2 separate regions of the Homo sapiens genome follow, and region 1 is linked to region 2. Evidence: promoter capture Hi-C in human tissues and cell types (Jung and others, 2019). All regions are on one chromosome and are shown on one strand. The core of a region is centred on a gene start or on the middle of the fragment in contact, and the rest is flanking DNA. Distances in the headings are between cores, read along the strand shown.

Region 1 (2,801 bases), core at 233-2,732, 1.1 Mb after region 2:
ACCACTGCACTCCAGCCTGGGCGACAGAATGAGACTAAGTCCAAAGACAAGCAAACAAACAAAAAAACAAAACAACAACAATAAAAAAATTCAATAGATGTGGCTAGGCGTGGTGGCTCACAACTGTAATCCCAAAACTTTGAGGTGGGAGAGAGGATTGCTTGAAGCCAGGAGTCTGAGACTAGCCTGGGCAACACAGTAAGACTCCATCTCTTAAAATAAAATTTAAAATTAAAAAAAAAAAAAAAAAAAATTTAGCCCAGCATGGTATTGCATGCCTTTAGTCCCAGCTACTCAGGAGGCTGAGGGAGAAGAATCGCTTAAGCCCAGGAGTTCAGGTTATAGTGAGCCATGATTGCACCACTGCACTGCAGCCTGGGAAAAAGAGTAAGATCCTGTCTCCAAAAAAAAAAAAAAAAAAAAAAAAAAAAAAAAAAAAAAAAAGGCTGCGCATGGTGGCTCACGCCTGTAATCCCAGTACTTTGGGAGGCCAAGGTGGGTGGATAACCTGAGGTCAGGAGTTCGAGACCAGCCTGGCCAACATGGTGAAACCCCGTCTCTACTAAAAATACAAAAAACTGGGCATGGTGGTGGGCACCTGTAATCCCAGCTACTGGAGAGGCTGGTAAGAGAATCACTTGAACCTGGGAGGCAGAGGTTGCAGTGAGCTGAGATTGCACCACTGCACTCCAGCCTGGGGAACAAGAGCAAAACTCCGTCTCCAAAAAAATTTAAAAATTTAAAAAAATAAAATAAAGGGTAGAAATTCTACTTATAACTTGACAAAAGGGTAATGTGCACACATGTAACTTAAACAGTAATCTCACTTTTAAATTAAAAACTGTAAAGTACTAATAGAACCCGAGGAGTATATAAAAATATATTTAATACTTATTTTTTTTTTGAGACAAGAGTCTTGCTCTGTCACCCAGGCTGGAGTGCAGTGGCGCAAGTCTGCCTTCCAGGTTCACACCATTCTCCTGCCTCAGCCTCTCAAGTAGCTGGGACTACAGGCGCCCACCACCACACCCAGCTAATATTTTTGTATTTTTTTAGTAGAGACAGGGTTTCACCATTGTTAGCCAGGATGGTCTTGATCTCCTGACCTCGTGATCTGCCCGCCTCGGCCTCCCAAATGCTGGGATTATAGGCATGAGCCACCGCACCCGGCCAAAGATATATTTAATACTTATTAAAGGATACATTTTGGAAAATTTTTGAAAGAAAACTTGAATTCATACCCATGTTGCACAAATCCACACCAAGAATCTATCCTGCAGACAAACTTAAGTGTACACACGCACACGCTCTTCCACTGAAACAAGATGCCAAATCATCTGCATGAATTCATTTAAGTTAAAAAACAACAAGAACACATACAATATTGTGTTTTACAATAAGAAAACAAATTTTTAAAAATATCACAACAGATGGTGTGCATGTGTAGCCCTAGCTATTTGGGAGGCTGAGGTGGCTCACTTGAGCCCAGGAGTGAGGAGCTATAGTGATCATGTCCACTGCACTCCAGGCCTGGGAGACAGAGTGAGTCAGTCTCTTAAAAGAAAAAAAAAACAAGGATCTCCTGGGCTCAAGAGATTCTTCTGCCTTAGCCTACCAAGTAGCTGGGATTGCAGGCATGCACCACCACGCCCAGCTAATCTTTTATATTTTTAGTAGAGACGGGGTTTCACCACGTTGGCCAGGCTGGTCTCAAACTCCTGACCTCAGATGATCCACCCGTATCAGCTTCCCAAAGTGCTGGGATTACAGGCGTGAGCCATCGCGACCGGTCCCAGTCATGAAATCCTATTGGCAGAATCCAACCACTTCATACCACCTCAACTACACTCAATCTAGTCCAAGTCACTATCTTTTCTCAAATGGGTTTCTTCAAGCCTCCTAACTGATCCTCCTCCTACTGGTTCTTACTTCCAAATCAATCAACACAGTAATCAGTGTAAATCTTGTTTTAAAATCTCAATCACATCATACCAACCTCATAATCTTCCAAATGACTTCTCATCTCACGAGGAATAGAAACCAAACTTCTTGCATGGTTCCCACAAGGTCCTATAGTATTTGTCGCCTCTATCCCCTCTCTCTGACTTCACCTCATTTTTTTGTTACTCTCCTAGCTGACACTACCAGTTACTCTGATTTCCTTGCTATATTTCTCCAAGATAGCAGGCAACCTTCCAGATCACAGGCCTCTGCACTTGGCTCTTCAACCACTAATTCCATGGTCATTCTCTCACATCGTGTCTTTTTCTTTAAATGTCAGTATTCAAAGTAACTTTTTTTTTTTTTTTGAGATGGAGTCTCGCTGTCGCCCAGGCTGGAGTGCAGTGGTGGGATCTCAGCTCACTGCAAGCTCCGCCTCCTAGCTTCATGCCATTCTCCTATCTCAGCCTCCCGAGTAGCTGGGACTATAGGCGCCCGCCACAACACCTGACTAATGTTTGTATTTTTTGTAGAGACAGGGTTTCACGGTGTTAGCCAGGATGGTCTCGATCTCCTGACCTCGTGATCCGCCTGCCTCAGCTTCCCAAAGTGCTGGGATTACAGACGTGAGCCACCGTGTCCGGCCCAAAGTAAGTTTTATTTAGAAATACAAGTGAAAGGCCAGGCGCGGTGGCTCACGCCTGTATTCCCAGCACTTTGGGAAGCCAAGGCAGGTGGATCACCTGAGGTTAGGAGTTCAAGACCAGCCTGACCAACATGGTGAAACCTCGTCTCTACTAAAAATACAAAAAATTAGCCGGGCATGGTGGCGGGCGCCTGTAATCCCAGCTACTCGGGAG
Region 2 (2,700 bases), core at 1-2,500:
CTGGAGGATGAGCAGATGTGGGCTTTTGCCTTAACTCATTACTAAGGTGCCTTATCAGGGTTGGTGCACCTGCTTCTGCTCACACAGGCGCATCCACAAGCATACACTCACTGTTGCACACACACACACACACACGCACATGTCCTCCTGCACTTGAAGGCACACATGCATGTCCTGTCAGCTCAGTGAAGCGCCATGCCCCTGGGGATTCCTCTGATCCCAGGTAACCACCTTTTGAAATGAATTTTATTATGACCACCGCTTCACAGCTGTGCAAGTCAAAGTAACTTGATGGGGGTCACAAGCTGGTGGCAGGCAGTCACCTGTGCTTTGCGCCCAGACCTGCCTGCTCTTTCCCTCACTTTCTTCACCCCAGAATCCAATCTCCCTCATGGACATCAACCTTCTCCGCTTCCAACTCCTCCTTTATATGGACACAGGCTCAGAATAGGTGAGCTCGCTGCCCACAGTCACAAAGCCCAGCCATGAATGAAACACAGGGGCCCCGCTGCTCCTGCACTGCTTTCCCCAGTAGGGAGGTGCTGAGGGGACCCTGGACTCCTGGCAGAAGGCATGCGGGCATCAGATCCCCGGGGCCCTGGGCCTGTTTCTGGTCCCTCCCATCATGTTGGGGGGCAAGGATAGTGCCCCATCAAGAGGTAGGGAGGCCCAGGGAGCAGGGAGGTTCGGCCCCTCCCTGAGACTTCTCGGGCACTCCTTCTTGGGGATTCAGCCCCTTCTGCTCACAAGGCCCCCCTTCCCCATCCCCTCCTCACTTCTGCCTCACAGTGGCCAGGTCCTGTGCCAGATTGTCCCTCTCAACCTCCAGCCGGGCGCTGTTGGCGGTGAGTTGATCGAGCCGCAGCCGCAGCTCTCGCAGCTCAGCCTGGTAGACGTCTGCCAGCTTGGTGGGCTCCTTGGCCCGCAGCTGGTTCAGCTCAGCAGCCAGCGCCTTGTTTTGCTGTTCCAGGAAGCGAACCTTCTCGATGTAGCTGGCAAAGCGGTCATTGAGCTCCATCATCTCTGCCCGCTCACTGGCCCGGGTCTCCTTGAAGCCAGCATTGAGTGCCCCAGCCAGGGAGAAATCCACCCGGGTCGGGAGTGGAGGGGGCATTCGAGCCAGGGAGAGGCGGGTGCCAGGACCCAGACGGCGGCCAGGAGCCAGGCCCCCCACCATCATCTCCCCTGAGGAGACGTAGGAGCGGCGAGCAGCGGAGGTGATGCGTCTCCTCTCCATCCTGCTCTGGCTCTGCTCGCTCCTGGGATGCGAGGGCTTTATGAAGGAGTGGGCTAGACTGGCGATGCCCGGGTGCCCCTGGCAACACCCCCTGGCATAGCCTGAGGGGGTGGGGTTGGGCCGCAGCCCAGCTATGGGGAGAGCTCCCCTCACCCCACTGAGGTCACTGTGCCCAGAGGCAGAGCTTCCTGGGCACGCCAACTCCTGCATGAGGCAGGTGGTACCTGGAGCCAGACCATGGGTCTGGGGCCCTGACCGCTGAAGCAAGAGGACCCTCTCTCTAGGAAGGTGGGTCAAGAAAGGGTTGGTTGGACCATGATGAATACTTACAATTATTATGCATCAATTAAAAAGGAAGGAAAGGGCTGAGTGGGGTGGCTCATGCTTGTAATCCCAGCACTTTGGGAGGCTGAGGCTGGAGGATTGCTTGAGCCCAGTAGGTTGAGGCTGCAGTGAGCTGTGTTTGCGCCACTCCAGCCTGGGCAACAGAGAGAGACCTTGTCTCACAAAAAAAAAAAAAAAAAAGGGAAGGAAGGGCTGTACCAGATGACCTCTGACCTGCTTTCCAACTTTTTGATTTCATAACCCAGGCATTATCTCACTCAGCTGTAAGTGCCTGCAAGGTGCTGGGAATTTGGCGAAGAATGAACCTGTTCTGTACCCTCAAGGGCCACCTCATTTCCTACTAGGCCTCATTCCCAGCAGACTCCTGGAGTCCTTCCCTTGAACACAGATGTCCCACATTCCTGCTCTCTGCCCATTCATTCCCTGGAGTTCTGGGGCTGGGGGCTGGGATTGGACACCAGCCCTTTGTCTAAGGGTCAATCATGGCCTCTATGTGGCAGTGGAGGTCCTGATAGGGCAAGAGGGGGCCGGCACTCTCTTGCCTTATCAGGACTTTAGCCCCTGGATCTGTCCCTCCAGGTCACCCCTTCCTTGTCTGGCCTCCCTGTGCCTCTCTCCCAGAGACCAGGCCTTGACAGCTCCACAAAGCCGTTACACATGAGCTGGCTGTGCTGGCTCGTCTTTATTCCTGCAGCGCCCCGTTTCCCTGGCCACCCCTCCGTCTCCCACTGGAGATTTATTTCCTCGAGTTCCCACACATCAGCCTGGAGAGATGGGAAGAACCTCTGGGGATGGATGGGTTTGGAAACGCTGGAGCCACTGGGCCCAACTAGGAGCCTGAGACCTGGGCCCTGTTGTCCCTGGAGACTTCAGGTCCATCTACGCCCTCCACTCTGGTCCCACAGGGTCAGAACCCTGCCCAGTCCCCTCACCCATTTGTGTCCTTGGACTTCTGGGAAGCAGACAGCCCTCCTCTCCCCCCCTGCCACCCACTGTCCATGCCTGGGCATCCCCTGATCCCCTTTCCTGGGCACAGGCTGAATAGAGCCTTGTTCTCCACCGCCGGTGGCGCCACACAGCAAGGGCAGCCCCTAGGGGGCTGTGCTGCTTTTATCCCA

What was found. Contacts are between HindIII fragments. The study calls those that stand out against the background at their distance.
Region 1: a fragment that was not itself captured here is called in contact with the fragment with the promoter of GFAP in region 2 in 1 of the 25 tissues and cell types used here (aorta).

The regions. Positions count from the first base shown.
Region 1 is chr17:46,052,562-46,055,362 of GRCh38, forward strand. All of the region lies in intron 6 of KANSL1 (KAT8 regulatory NSL complex subunit 1), which reads right to left. Among named protein-coding and RNA genes, the nearest start is that of STH, 55 kb to the left of the region's middle. The HindIII fragment of the contact is 5,613 bases long and covers 1-2,801 here.
Region 2 is chr17:44,914,250-44,916,949 of GRCh38, forward strand. GFAP (glial fibrillary acidic protein) reads right to left here and starts at 1,251. Exons shown (of 9, transcript NM_002055.5): 1 at 777-1,251. The coding sequence starts at 1,237. The HindIII fragment of the contact is 9,658 bases long and covers 1-2,700 here.